Regions from separate parts of the Homo sapiens genome. Here regions 2, 3 and 4 are each linked to region 1. Evidence: promoter capture Hi-C in 16 types of primary human blood cells and fetal thymus (Javierre and others, 2016). All regions are on one chromosome and are shown on one strand. The core of a region is centred on a gene start or on the middle of the fragment in contact, and the rest is flanking DNA. Distances in the headings are between cores, read along the strand shown.

Evidence for each region. Contacts are between HindIII fragments. The CHiCAGO score rates a contact against its expected background, and 5 or more counts as called.
Region 2: a fragment that was not itself captured here is called in contact with the fragment with the promoter of CCDC182 in region 1 in 6 of 17 cell types (total B cells, naive B cells, total CD8 T cells and 3 more); the score reaches 11.1 in total B cells.
Region 3: a fragment that was not itself captured here is called in contact with the fragment with the promoter of CCDC182 in region 1 in 5 of 17 cell types (total B cells, naive CD8 T cells, total CD4 T cells and 2 more); the score reaches 8.5 in total B cells.
Region 4: a fragment that was not itself captured here is called in contact with the fragment with the promoter of CCDC182 in region 1 in 1 of 17 cell types (naive CD8 T cells); the score reaches 6.4 in naive CD8 T cells.

Annotation. Positions count from the first base shown.
Region 1 is chr17:57,743,791-57,746,756 of GRCh38, reverse strand. CCDC182 (coiled-coil domain containing 182) reads left to right here and starts at 1,458. Exons shown (of 1, transcript NM_001282544.2): 1 at 1,458-2,262. The coding sequence starts at 1,485. The coding sequence ends at 1,946. The HindIII fragment of the contact is 19,296 bases long and covers 1-2,966 here.
Region 2 is chr17:57,284,539-57,287,504 of GRCh38, reverse strand. All of the region lies in intron 5 of MSI2 (musashi RNA binding protein 2), which reads right to left. Among named protein-coding and RNA genes, the nearest start is that of MSI2, 29 kb to the right of the region's middle. RefSeq lists an enhancer at 2,398-2,667. The HindIII fragment of the contact is 690 bases long and covers 1,177-1,866 here.
Region 3 is chr17:57,302,751-57,305,716 of GRCh38, reverse strand. All of the region lies in intron 5 of MSI2 (musashi RNA binding protein 2), which reads right to left. Among named protein-coding and RNA genes, the nearest start is that of MSI2, 48 kb to the right of the region's middle. The HindIII fragment of the contact is 8,097 bases long and covers 1-2,966 here.
Region 4 is chr17:57,352,231-57,355,196 of GRCh38, reverse strand. The region is part of intron 5 of MSI2 (musashi RNA binding protein 2); the gene reads right to left. Among named protein-coding and RNA genes, the nearest start is that of MSI2, 97 kb to the right of the region's middle. RefSeq lists an enhancer at 196-245. The HindIII fragment of the contact is 1,889 bases long and covers 562-2,450 here.

The DNA of each region.
Region 1 (2,966 bases), core at 209-2,708:
ACTTAGAGCCACTTTGACATGGAAGGGTCTAGGTTGATCCTAAGTTTCTTAGTCTATTGTGTGCTGCTATAGTAAAATACCCGATGCTGGGTAATTTATAAAGAACAGAAATGTATTTCCTTACAGTTCTGGAGGCTAGGAAGTCCAAAATCAAAATGCTGGCATCTGGCAAGGGCCTTCTTGCTGTGTCATTCCACAGCAGAAGACATCACATAGTAGAAGGGCAAAGAGAGGGTGAGAGAGAGACATAAAGGGGCTGAACTTATCCACTTATAAGGAACCTGCTCCCAAGATAACAGTGTTAATCCATTTATCTCTTAAAGGGTAGCCTAATCATCTGTTAAAGGTCCTTCCTCATAATCCTGTTACAATGGTAATTAAATTGCAACATGAGTTTGGGAGGGGACAAATATTAGCATCACAGCACCAGTTGTCTCATGAGGGCTCTGGTGTGTGTGCTGTTCTGGGTTGCTCTCATTAATCTGACAGCAACACTGGAACAGGAACTGGTTTGGGTAAAGAGATCACCAATTCAGCTTTGGATGGCTTGAATTGGAGGCCCATTGTGGGGGAGACGTTTAGATTTGGAGACCAGGAGAGAAGTCTAGGCAAGAGACTGAGATGTGCAAGATGAAGGTTTGTTCCTGACTAAACCAAATGTAGATTAGCTAGAAGTATTTTCCTTTGTTCTAATTATCAGGTAAAAAGTACAAGATTTACCTTTCTATGTGTTGTTTCTCATATTTGTTAACATTCAGGTATGTTGGAAGACCATGCACTCACTTGTTCCCTGATCCTAGTGTGTAGTGAGCACTTAGTATTTATTGAATAAATATGACTAACCCATTTTTACCTTGCACCTGCTGAATCAGCCATTGCTGTGGACCATACATCAAAATCTAAGTACATTTTTCGCAATTTCTAAGATTTTATAGAATTCTGACATCATTATAGGAGTATGGACTTGGAATAAGAGATTACTTTTTAGCATTTTAGAGCTACAAGTGGGATTAGGTATCATCTCTTACAATGTCTTTGTTTTACTAGTGAGGTACTAAAGCCCAGAGACCAGTCCAAGACCATGCAGGTCCCTTGCCAGTGTGGGAGACCACCCAGTCCTGGCAGCCAGTGAGCCTGGCCTGGCCTGCCTTGCTCTGGCCAGTTTACTTCCCTGCTCTGGGACTTGGTTTGTTCCTTAGGTTAAAGAAGAACTTGAGTTCTGGTTCTAGAAGGGTGATGAGTTAAGGATCCACATCTCAGGAGGGCGACTTGGTCAGATAAACAGACAAAGCTCTAGGTAACCAACCAAGGAAGCTACAATATGCAAATGAATGGATTGTGGCTTTCTTTCTGGTTGGCTGAAGGGGCCCTGATGTCACAATTCTAGGGTTTCTCCACTCCGAATGATCGTGTCTCTAGCCAAAAATATTTATTGACCTGGTTGGTCTCTTGGCTTCCTCTCTTTGTCCAACGTAGAAGAGACAATGGAACCCCTCTACCAGGCTGGGTCCATTCTCATGACGGTGAATACCCTACAGGGGAAAAAAATGATAGAGAGTGGCCTCCAGTCTGGAGACTTTTCCCTGTCCCAGTCATGGCCCTCCTGCCTCCCACCACCCGCTGACTTGGAGATCCTGCAGCAGAAGGTGGCCGGGGTGCAACGGGAACTGGAGGACTTTAAGAAAGAGGCATTGAAGTCCATTCATTACCTTGAAGACGCCTTCTGCGAGATGAATGGAGCCCTGGTGCAACAGGAGGAGCAGGCGGCTCGCGTGAGGCAGCGGCTAAGGGAGGAGGAGGACCGTGGCATCGTGCGCAACAAGGTTCTCACCTTCCTGTTGCCGCGCGAGAAACAGCTCCGGGAGCACTGCAAGCGGCTGGAGGACCTGCTGCTGGACAGGGGACGTGACGCCCTGCGTGCCACCAAGAAGAGCCAGGCTGACTGAACCTCGTGGGTGGCACTAGCCAAGCACCAAGTTGAAGATTTTTTTTAACGGAAGGAGAAACCCCAAGTCCCTACCCCCTTGCTTTCCCTTCCTCATTTCCATTGCTTTCCTTCTGCCTAAATAACACCTTGCTGAGAGGCAAAAAGACTTCAATATTTTTTTTGGTGAAATTCCATTTATCCAGCATTCTAAAGGAAGGAGGCACCCCAGTACTGAGTCAGGCCCCTGTAACTTTCACTTGAACTGTTTTCCTGTTTGTAATGGTACTATTGCTCAATGTATACCTCTTTATTTGTATAGTATATTCTTAAACTGATTGTGTTGAACATTCACCTTTTTTTTTTTGAATGATTTGAGGCTTTCATGATTTGAGACTTAACACCTGGTCAACTGATACCACATCACGTAACACATGATCTCCCCAGAGGGGTCGGACTGCTTGCCCGTGCACTAACACTACCCCAGATTGCTCTGTTTTTAGTATTCTAACCCTTGTCTGTATGGTCTTTCTGTCTGCCTCTACTCTTAGACTGTCACATCTCACTTTTCTTTGCTGCCTCTTTCTACCTCTACTTCCTTTCCATTTAGACTGCAGACTGGCCAATCGGAATGACAGAGCTTATTGGGACTGTGTGGGTGGAACTCGCTGAGCTTTAGCAACCGATAATGCAACACCTCTGAGATGGCACTAGGAAGTGGGGAAACTGATTTCTGTGTTCGATCCATGGAGCAGGAATTATTGTCACAGTGCCTGGCCATTTATCAGGCAACACACACATACCATCCCACTTACTTCCATAGGCACCTTGGAGGTGAGTGTTGATTTTCCATGGTTCACACTGGGAGACTGGCCGCAGGAAGGCAAGTCCAGTACCCAAGGTCTGCACACTAGTAAGTGGCAGGGCCATGGTTTAAGTCCAGGTCAGCTGTGCTCATTTGCATCCTGCTGCATCCTTCTCTGCTCCCCAGTTTTGGAACCACTTCAGGCTGTTCATGGACGTGTTCTTCTGGAAGGCTGAG
Region 2 (2,966 bases), core at 272-2,771, 460 kb after region 1:
TGCAAGACTCCGCGACTGAGCAACAAGTTAGGATGGTAAGCCCCGGCAGTCCTCCACCCGCAGACAGCCCCTCACACACACTATTCTGTCCCCCACAGGACCCCTTCCTTGAGGCTGGCCGAGAGGGACCCATGGAAGGGGTGCTAGGCCAGCAAATTATATGGCACCCAAACTCAGGCCCAGCAGGGCTTCCAAGACACACAGGACAGCCTCGCCAGGCTGGGTGTTCACTGAGGGAAGCAGTTTCACACTTCCTTTCCTTGGGCCTGCACTAATTTCCCACACTCACATTGCAAGGAGGCATTCTTGGGCTCACGGGGCCCTCAGAAAGGGTCCTATTATAAAGGTTCAGCAAATTAAAAAAAAAAAAAAACAACTTTTTGAGACCACTTATTTGTAGGGTACTATAGAGATGATAAATATGGAGCAAAAGGGGCTGCTTTTTTTCTTTCTTTTTAAATTTCCAATGAAGAAATGTGGCTTCAAAACTCTCTGCGGCGCGAGCCAGTTGCCTCCAGGCCAGCCTCTCCCTAGGCCTTGCTTTGTTTCTGGGCATCACACTCTGACCTGCAGGACCCGCACTTGGCAATCAGCTTAAACCTACCTCGGCATTTTAATGAGCCAGACTGCCATCTCCTCCCACACTGCCCGCTCTCTCCTGGAAGAACACACCTTTCCTAATTCTGTTTGTTCACCAGAAAAATAAATAAATAATAATAAGCGGGGGAGGGGGTGTGGGTTTACTGGAAGGTCATTTTGCCTTAGGAAAGGAACAAATTAAGTCGAGGCTCACAGTGAGCCGGGAAATACATTCTCCATCAGACAAGCGACCTTGGGGCCTTCGGTTTTAGGCGGGAAAGGTCACTGGTAAGGCAGCCCCTTGTTTATGGAGCCCGGATACCAATGACGTGGTCACCTCCGAGAAGCACAATTACCAACAGGGGCACGCCAAACTCTTTTATTGGTTACCTCTTAAACACTCCAGAAATCTGTCCAAGTCCTTGCAGAATAGCAGAAAACAAAAGTGCTCTCAGCAGGAGGGGGAAGCCAGGACTCGATGATGAGCAATTAGTGAATCAATGACTCTCAGAGACACTGATTTAGACCAGCAGTTCTTATTAGCGACCGTCGAGGAAAATGCAGGGACACACAAAGCTTCCAGGAGAGACTAAAGCTTTAAAAACATTTTTTTAAAAATCACCACAAACTGCCTTCAGAGCTTCCCCCTAAAACACTTAAAATGTGTGCTCAGTCTGAGGAAAAAAAAAAAAAGACTATTTGTTGTTTCCTTAATGTCAAAAAAACAAGTGAAACTACAACCACTAGTTCTGTCGCCCCACATGAAAATTATTCTCTCAAAATCCCAAAAATGAGATAAGGAATTAGGTATTAGACAAAAGAAAGAAAGAAAAAATAAAGAAGAAAGAAGGAAGGGAGGGAAAGACAGAAAGAGGCTGGCTAGCTAATATGAACAGCATGAACTTTTTCTTACCCTCATCAGATTGCAGGAATATAAAACAGATTGGTCTCCACTCCCACTCCATCCATGTTGAATAAAAAGATACTGATTCACGTGATAAGACGTATTCTTTAGTACTTTCTTAATATAACCCCTCATCATCTAAACACCTGTTCGGAAAATCAGAACTACACAACAGAAAGTGAGTGGTAGGAGGCTTGGCTAACTGACGGGCAAGGAGAAAAGAAAACATTTCTAAAAATATAATGATGCTTGCTAAGAAAATAGAGTTCCATGTACACAGAAATTCTCAGGAATACCTACTTGGGGAGACGTTCCTGTAACTGTTTTTAAACATTCAGTTCCATCCCACAGAATTCAAAACACCTACTAAGAACACAGAAGCTTCCCAGGCATGACTGTGGGGGCCGGAACCTTCCACAAACTTTATTTGAAGGCTGCTAATAACATGCAGCTGGGCATACTTTCCCCACACCCCAGCCTCTCCTGAAAAGTGCGCCCTCCCACCACCACCTTCCTTTCTTTCTGATTTTGTGAATACCAGCGAACGCTGAGACAATGCGGTTCACCGTGAAAATGGAAAACCGCAAGTTGGCCTCCTCAGCAGCAGCCAGCCCCCAGCCAAGGGCCCTCTGCAAACTTCCCCTTTATTTGTTCCTTGGTTTGGTTTCTGCTGGGTTGCTAATCTATTTGCTCTAAGCTATTGGAAGAAGTCGGCAAAAGAAAACAAAAAGGCTTTCTTCCTAGCAGGGGAAAAATGGGTAACCTTGAACCCAAAGAACCCTCCCTCCCCTGAAACTCCGGCTACTCTGAAAGTTTGTTGCTATCTAACCTTGAAAACAGTATGTGCCTCAGGGTCCCCTCCGCACTGGGCTCTAACAAGGATGTTGACGGTTCCTTATCTAAGGGGAAGGATGCAAACAATTTTTTTTAAGGTGAAAAGAAGAAACTTCTAAGAAACCGACGCCAATCTATGCACAGAAAAACCTCCCCTATCCTCCTACAAGTCTTCCAGAAAGGGGAGGGGTTGAAGAAAGAGAAAATCCAAAAACTGATCACTGCTAAGCTCCATAGTTTCAATAAATTGTTACCAATGTTGTCTTCGAAGGCAAAAAAAAAAAAAAGGTCATTTTAATTCTGGTTGAGGAGGGCATAGGGTAAACCCCTGGCCAACTTGAGCTTCTCCCATCCCCAGCAGATGAGGCTGAGGTTGATCCAGAGGTGACCTGTGCCAACAAGCCCTCCCCCAATGGGGGCAGATGACGCCATGAAGCCCCATGCTTCTCATCTCCATGGTGACCCCAAAAAACAAAATCAACTCTACACTAGGAGACACAAGAGTCCCATCAACTTAGAAACTTTCTTCTTCTCAGTAATAGTCTCCTACAACATTTTAATGAAATACTTTTTTAAAAATTGGGGTCAGAGTGTTTTACGTGGGATTACAGTCAAACCACATCTTCCCATCTCTTCGTACTTATTCACT
Region 3 (2,966 bases), core at 149-2,648, 440 kb after region 1:
AGTCGATTTTATTCTGTGTGTCAGGCTCCTCATCTGTAAAATGGGACTAGATCCTCCAGGGTTGTTGTGAGAGCTCCATTTAACACACTTTATCTTCCTTCACCCTGCCTGAACTGCCCGATATCAAACGCACCGAACTGGCTGCCTAAAACCTCGTCAGCAGTAACACACAGTGATCAGCGTGTGTTTTGACTACATTGCCCAAGTCTCTGGCCCTGGCTGCTAGAGGTCTTGCTGGCGCAGAGCAGATTCTTTTTCCCAGAAGATTAATTTATTAACTCTTCTTGAAAGCTGTTTGTTTGCAAGAAGGCACAACTGGCTCCGGGTGAGTGTGTGTTACTAAGGAAAAAGGGCCCCAGAGAACAATGCTGCTCTTACCCTATCCTCAACATCGGAGGCTCCAGAGATGCCTGACTTTCCCCAAGACCCTAGCTGAACGGTTCACCCATGCCGGTCAGTGAGGTTCCTCCTGAGAAGGTGCCACCAGACAGATGCTCGGGCCCTTCTGCAACTCACACCGTGGGATTCTGTACCCCTAAATATCCTCATTCTGAATCCCAACTGAGGGGGCCTTTCCTAAAGGCTGGGGCCACCTATCACTCTTCCCAAGCATCTGGTCTACCTCCTAATAACACTCTCCTGCCTGTAATCACGTCTTCAGCATCTGTCCTTCCATTTAGACTATAAGCTCTCTGAGAGCGAAGACCTGGCTTGTCTTATTTTTACTGTATCCCCCCGTCCCACAAAACATCTGGCACTCAGTAGATGCTGGATACATATTTGCTACACTGCCAAGGATGGGCTGTGGGGAGTCTTCCTTAAGAAAACCCCTCTGTGGGAGACCTCTTGTAGTTCTAAGGGGATTTTTCTTAGGAGAGGGTCCAGAGGTTTCACCCTATGCTGAAAGAGGACCTACCCAAAAATAGCTTAAGACTACTGACAAATAGTGAATCTCAGGGAGGAATTCTGGGTAAACTCTTAATAGCTTCTCCTGGCTGGGTGCGATGGCTCACACCTGTAATCCCAGCAATTTGGGAGGCCGAGGCAGAAGGATCACCTGAGGTCAGGAGTTCGAGATCAGCCTGGCCCAACATAGTGAAACCCTGTCTCTATTCAAAATACAAAAATTAGCTGGGCGTGCTGGTAGGCGCCTATAGTCCCAGCTACTCGGGAGGCAGAGGCAGGAGAATCGCTTGAACCGGGGAGGTGGAGGCTGCAGTGAGCCGAGAGCACACGACTGCACTCCAGCCTGGGAGATAGAGTGAGACTCGGTCTCAAAAGGAAAAAAAAAAAAAAAATTACTCTTTATCCTGATAGTCAATGGGTTTCTTTTTTTCTTTTTTCTTTTTTTTTTTTTTTGGAGACAGAGTCTCACTCTGTCGCCCAGGCTGAAGTGCAGTGGTGCAATCTCGGCTCACCGCAACCTCCACCTCCTGGGTTCAAGCGATTCTCCTGCCTCAACCTCCCAAGTAACTGGGACTACAGGCGCACGCCACCACGCCCAGCTATTTTTTGTATTTTTAGTAGAGATAGCATTTCACCATGTTGGCCAGGATGGTCTCAATCTCCTGACCTCATGATCCACCCGCCTCGGCCTCCCAAAGTGCTGGGATTACAGGCGTGAGCCATGGCGCACAGCCATCAATGGGCTCTTAATATGGCTCCCAACTATTTTTCTGGGTGTTCCCCTTTGGATAAAGCTCTCCCTCCCTGCTCCTTCCCTCCAAGACTCCCTTCCCTCCTCCCTCTAGTAATTCAGGTCCTCCCATGCTTGAGGGACTCTCTCAAGGCCACCTCTTCTGAGAAATCCTCCTGAAAGACCCCAGGAAGAGCCTGTACTGTTTTCTACTTCCTTTGACAATTAACCACACGACACCTTGTGTGACGGCCCATTACGCTACTGAACTATCATTCACATCCTGGGTATTTACAGTCTAGCATCCCATAATAGTTTGTAAGTTTCTTGGAGGCAGGGACTAGTGTCTTCTTCCTCAAAGGGCCCATCATATTAGGAACTCAATAAATAAATGTGTTGACAGGTATTCCGAGTGATGTAGCAAAATAACAGACCGCTGAGGCCAGGATTATTTGAGTAAAGATTTTTTCCTGTACAATAATAATAATACAATAATTTTTAAAACACCCACTATCCCACCACACAAATGAAATCAACTATTATTTTTCCCTGTTCCTCCTGGACCTTGTCCATAAGCACAGGTAATATTTATATAGTTGTATTCACAACAGAAACACAATGTTAGCCTCTGATATTTTTCCCCCTTCACACTGCGTTTCTAAACATGCTTTCTCACTTGGGAATGAAAGCCTGTGTTTGGTCCTGCAATTCTTCTCATGGGGTTACTAGAACAACCAACCCAGCATATGTCGAGCTGTGCAATTCCATTCTTTCGTAACATAACTTTTTTTTCCCCTTCCATAGGCAGCTTCTCTCCCCCAAGTGTTAAAGCAGATTTTCCAGAACATCAAAGGTCTATTTTCACAGGAAAGCACTCAGCTGAACATGTAGTAAAACAGACCGCCCCCGCCAAAGCTACAGCCACAGCAGAACCCTCCCTGGCCAATGGGTCCCTCATTGAGATTTGGGGACTTCCCCGTGAACACCGGACAGGGAATCCTGTGCTCCAGCAGTCCTGCCCAACCCCGCTCTGGCCTCTGATCACCAGCTGGAGCCTGGTGGTCCTTTTTCCCTCATCCCTCCCTATGAAAAGTGTGTTGCTGTTTCTCCCTCTCTCCTCCTCACTCGGCCAGTTTCTACCTTGGGGTTTCTATCTTAGGTGTTGATGTTTGCCTGGGGCTGTCCCCCAACTCCTCCCCAAAGCCACTCCCTTGCCCACGATCTGCTGCCACCAAACACCCAGGGACTCTGCCTGAAGTCCCATTTATTTGCCTATTTACATGAAAAGTAATAAAATGCTCCCCTCAAAAGAGGATGTGGATTTAGGGGT
Region 4 (2,966 bases), core at 257-2,756, 390 kb after region 1:
GAATGAGGCCAACCCACAGAGAAAAGGAGAGAGGAGAGATGAGGGACAGAGAGAGCCATGGTGACATCACCGGAGCCCTGGGACCAGCTGTGACAAAACCAGGAAAACTCCTGGACTTTACAGTTATGTGGGCCAAGGTATTCTCCTTTCTGGTTGGGTTCCTTTGAGTTGGGTTATTTGAAACCAGAAGGATCCTGACTTATGACACAGAAGACAATCTTAAAAATATGCTGGTCACAGACTCCACATTTTTCAGACTATCTTTATTTTCAACACTCAGTTTTGTGGCCCCATAAAACCACTTCCACTCTTGCCTTCTAGAGTCTACTCTGCCCAGCAGCTAGAGAGATCTTCTCCAACAGTTAATCATACTGCATCATTCTCTGGCTGCTCGAATCCTTCCAACAACATCCCATCGCATGCTCCTTTGTATTAATACAAGCTCCCAGGCTCCTTGTATCTGGCCCCTGCCTCTCTCCTCAAACTCCTCTCCCACCCCCTTCCTCATCACACCCTCTCTGCTCTCACCTGCACTTCCTGGAGGTTCACACTTATCAAGCTTTCTCCTATCTCAAGATGTTGCCTCTGCTGCTGCCTCACCTAAAGTTCTGGCGACCATTCCCTCCCTTAGTTCAGATCTCTATCCAAATATCACCTCCCAGAGAGACATCCTTTAAACACCCCTCCCCCACCTGGAATCAAATTTTATATTCACTTATCATCTCTCTTAGAATGTAAGCTCTCCCAGGGCATTGACCTTGACCATCCTGCTCACTTCTGTATTTCTATTGCCTGGCCTCTCTACCACTATTTATTAAATACACAAAATTCCAGTGTTGTGGCATTCAAACACCTTCCCAGCCATTCAAAGAGCAACATGGGGTCCTGGGCCATACCACGTCCTTACACTTTCCACACCAAAACTAACATCACCAGAGCTATGCTACTGACTAGGGGTTGGCAAACTATAGCATGCAGTCCACATCAGGTCTGCCATCTGTTTTTCTCTTACCTGAGAACTAAGAATGGTTTTTACTGACAAACATCTATAACTGACTTGATAATAGAAAACAGTAACTTTGTACTCCAATTCAGCAAAATGTTATGCCCCCTGAAACAAAATCCATTCTTCTCATTAGCAAATGTGTATTTTAAAAAACTGTACTCAATAATTGTCATTATATTTTGAATTTCATCAGTAAAAATTCTCCGTAAATGTTTTCTCTCTTGTTATGTTAAATACCTACACAAAATCCTCAATATTGCATCCTGATCCCTGAAAGCCTAAAATATTTACTATCTGGACCCTTTACACACATAAAAAAAAAGAGTTTGCTGATCCCCATGACAGACTTACTGCTCATGGATGGGGGAAAAGGAGACTTAATAGGTCAGTCCAACCCCTGCACCATCCAGGACCAAAATTAATGAGGAAACAAGAGAACCAGGTCTTCGAATACTCTTAATGTTCTGAGACCCAAGGAAAAAATTATAATCAGACTAAATCTTCAATCTACTGGTACTGGAAGCTCTTAAATTCAAGGACCCTCCAGAGGAAATAGATACTTTGACTCAGCAAATGCTCCTACAAGAGAAATGGCATCACTGGTACCACCTACATCTCCACCAACTACTCCCTAAATAACAAAGGAAATAAGAGTCTACGATTTCCCTTAGAATATCTTAGGTAAATGTCTTAGGAGCTCCTCCACTATCTGTTCCTAACTGAACCATGTATCAGTGCACCAAGTCCATCTTTAGCCTTGTGTCCTCCTGGGCACACAAGTCCTTAGTACAACCCCAAGAAAACCCAAGGAATCACATCGAATCAATCAAGCCTCCATCCAATGTGGAAGTCACAGCCATGCCTGCTTTACACCTACCCACAGTTGGTCCAAGGAAGACTTAAACAGGAGCAGTGGGTACAAGTGAAAACCCACTCCCATTTGGTCAGTACAACTCCGATAATGGTCTGGGGAAACACAGGAGGCCAGGCTATACTTGAGTTGCCAGAAAACTAAAGGAATGAAAAGTGTCCTTCTCTGGAGGAGAGCGCATTTTCGGGAGCTATCTGGGGAAAGATGGGCCAATGAACTGTTGATATTCAAATCATCATTAAATGACTCAACTTTCCAGAAATAAAAGGCGTCACAGTGGGAAATTCTCCATCTTGACTTTTTTAAAGCTGCAGAGCAGAGAACCGATTAATTTTTAAACATTTCTTTAAAATTACAAGAGTCACCCTCACCCAGTCCAGTCATTACTAATTTCCTACTCTCCACACCCTGATCCTTAACACCGCCCTGTGAAATTGCTCAGTGCCCAGCAGGGCTGAAGCAGCAGAGGAGGAGGCTAGGAGGAGCCCTTCTCCTTCTGGCCAAGGCAAACTGGTAGCCAGAGGGATTCCATCCAAGTTAAATCCACATGGACCAAGAAGAGACCAAGAAGCTTGAACATAAGAAACTGGCTCCTTCAAGACCACAAACCCTGTCTAGGTACAGCCTTTTAAGGTGACAATTATTCAGGGATTGGCTGATATTTATTCCTCTGACCCTACCCTTTATCTTTCTTCCAGGGTCCCTCAACACCTCCTCCTAAAATCACAGACCTTTGTGAGCATGGAAGAGCAAGAAGAAACACAGAGCTGCTCAGTGTGTGAGTCCGAACAAACCTGTTCCCATTTAGGAATCAGGGTTCCACCCTCCTTCACCTGGGAGCTCCTCTTCATCTGCTTCCCTTCTCTTTTCCGCCAAGGTCTTAGAGTCCTATTTCCTCCCCTACTTCCTTTATAAAATAAAAGGAACAAACATCGAGTCCTCTATTCAGACATCTAAGTTCCAGAAATCAAAAGAATAAATAGGAAGGGCGGCCACAGATTTCTCTACTTGGGAAAAATACCAAAATGGTCCTAGGTCCCAAAACAGAGATGGTAGCCCAAGACTTTACACACTGGTGAACCTCAGAGT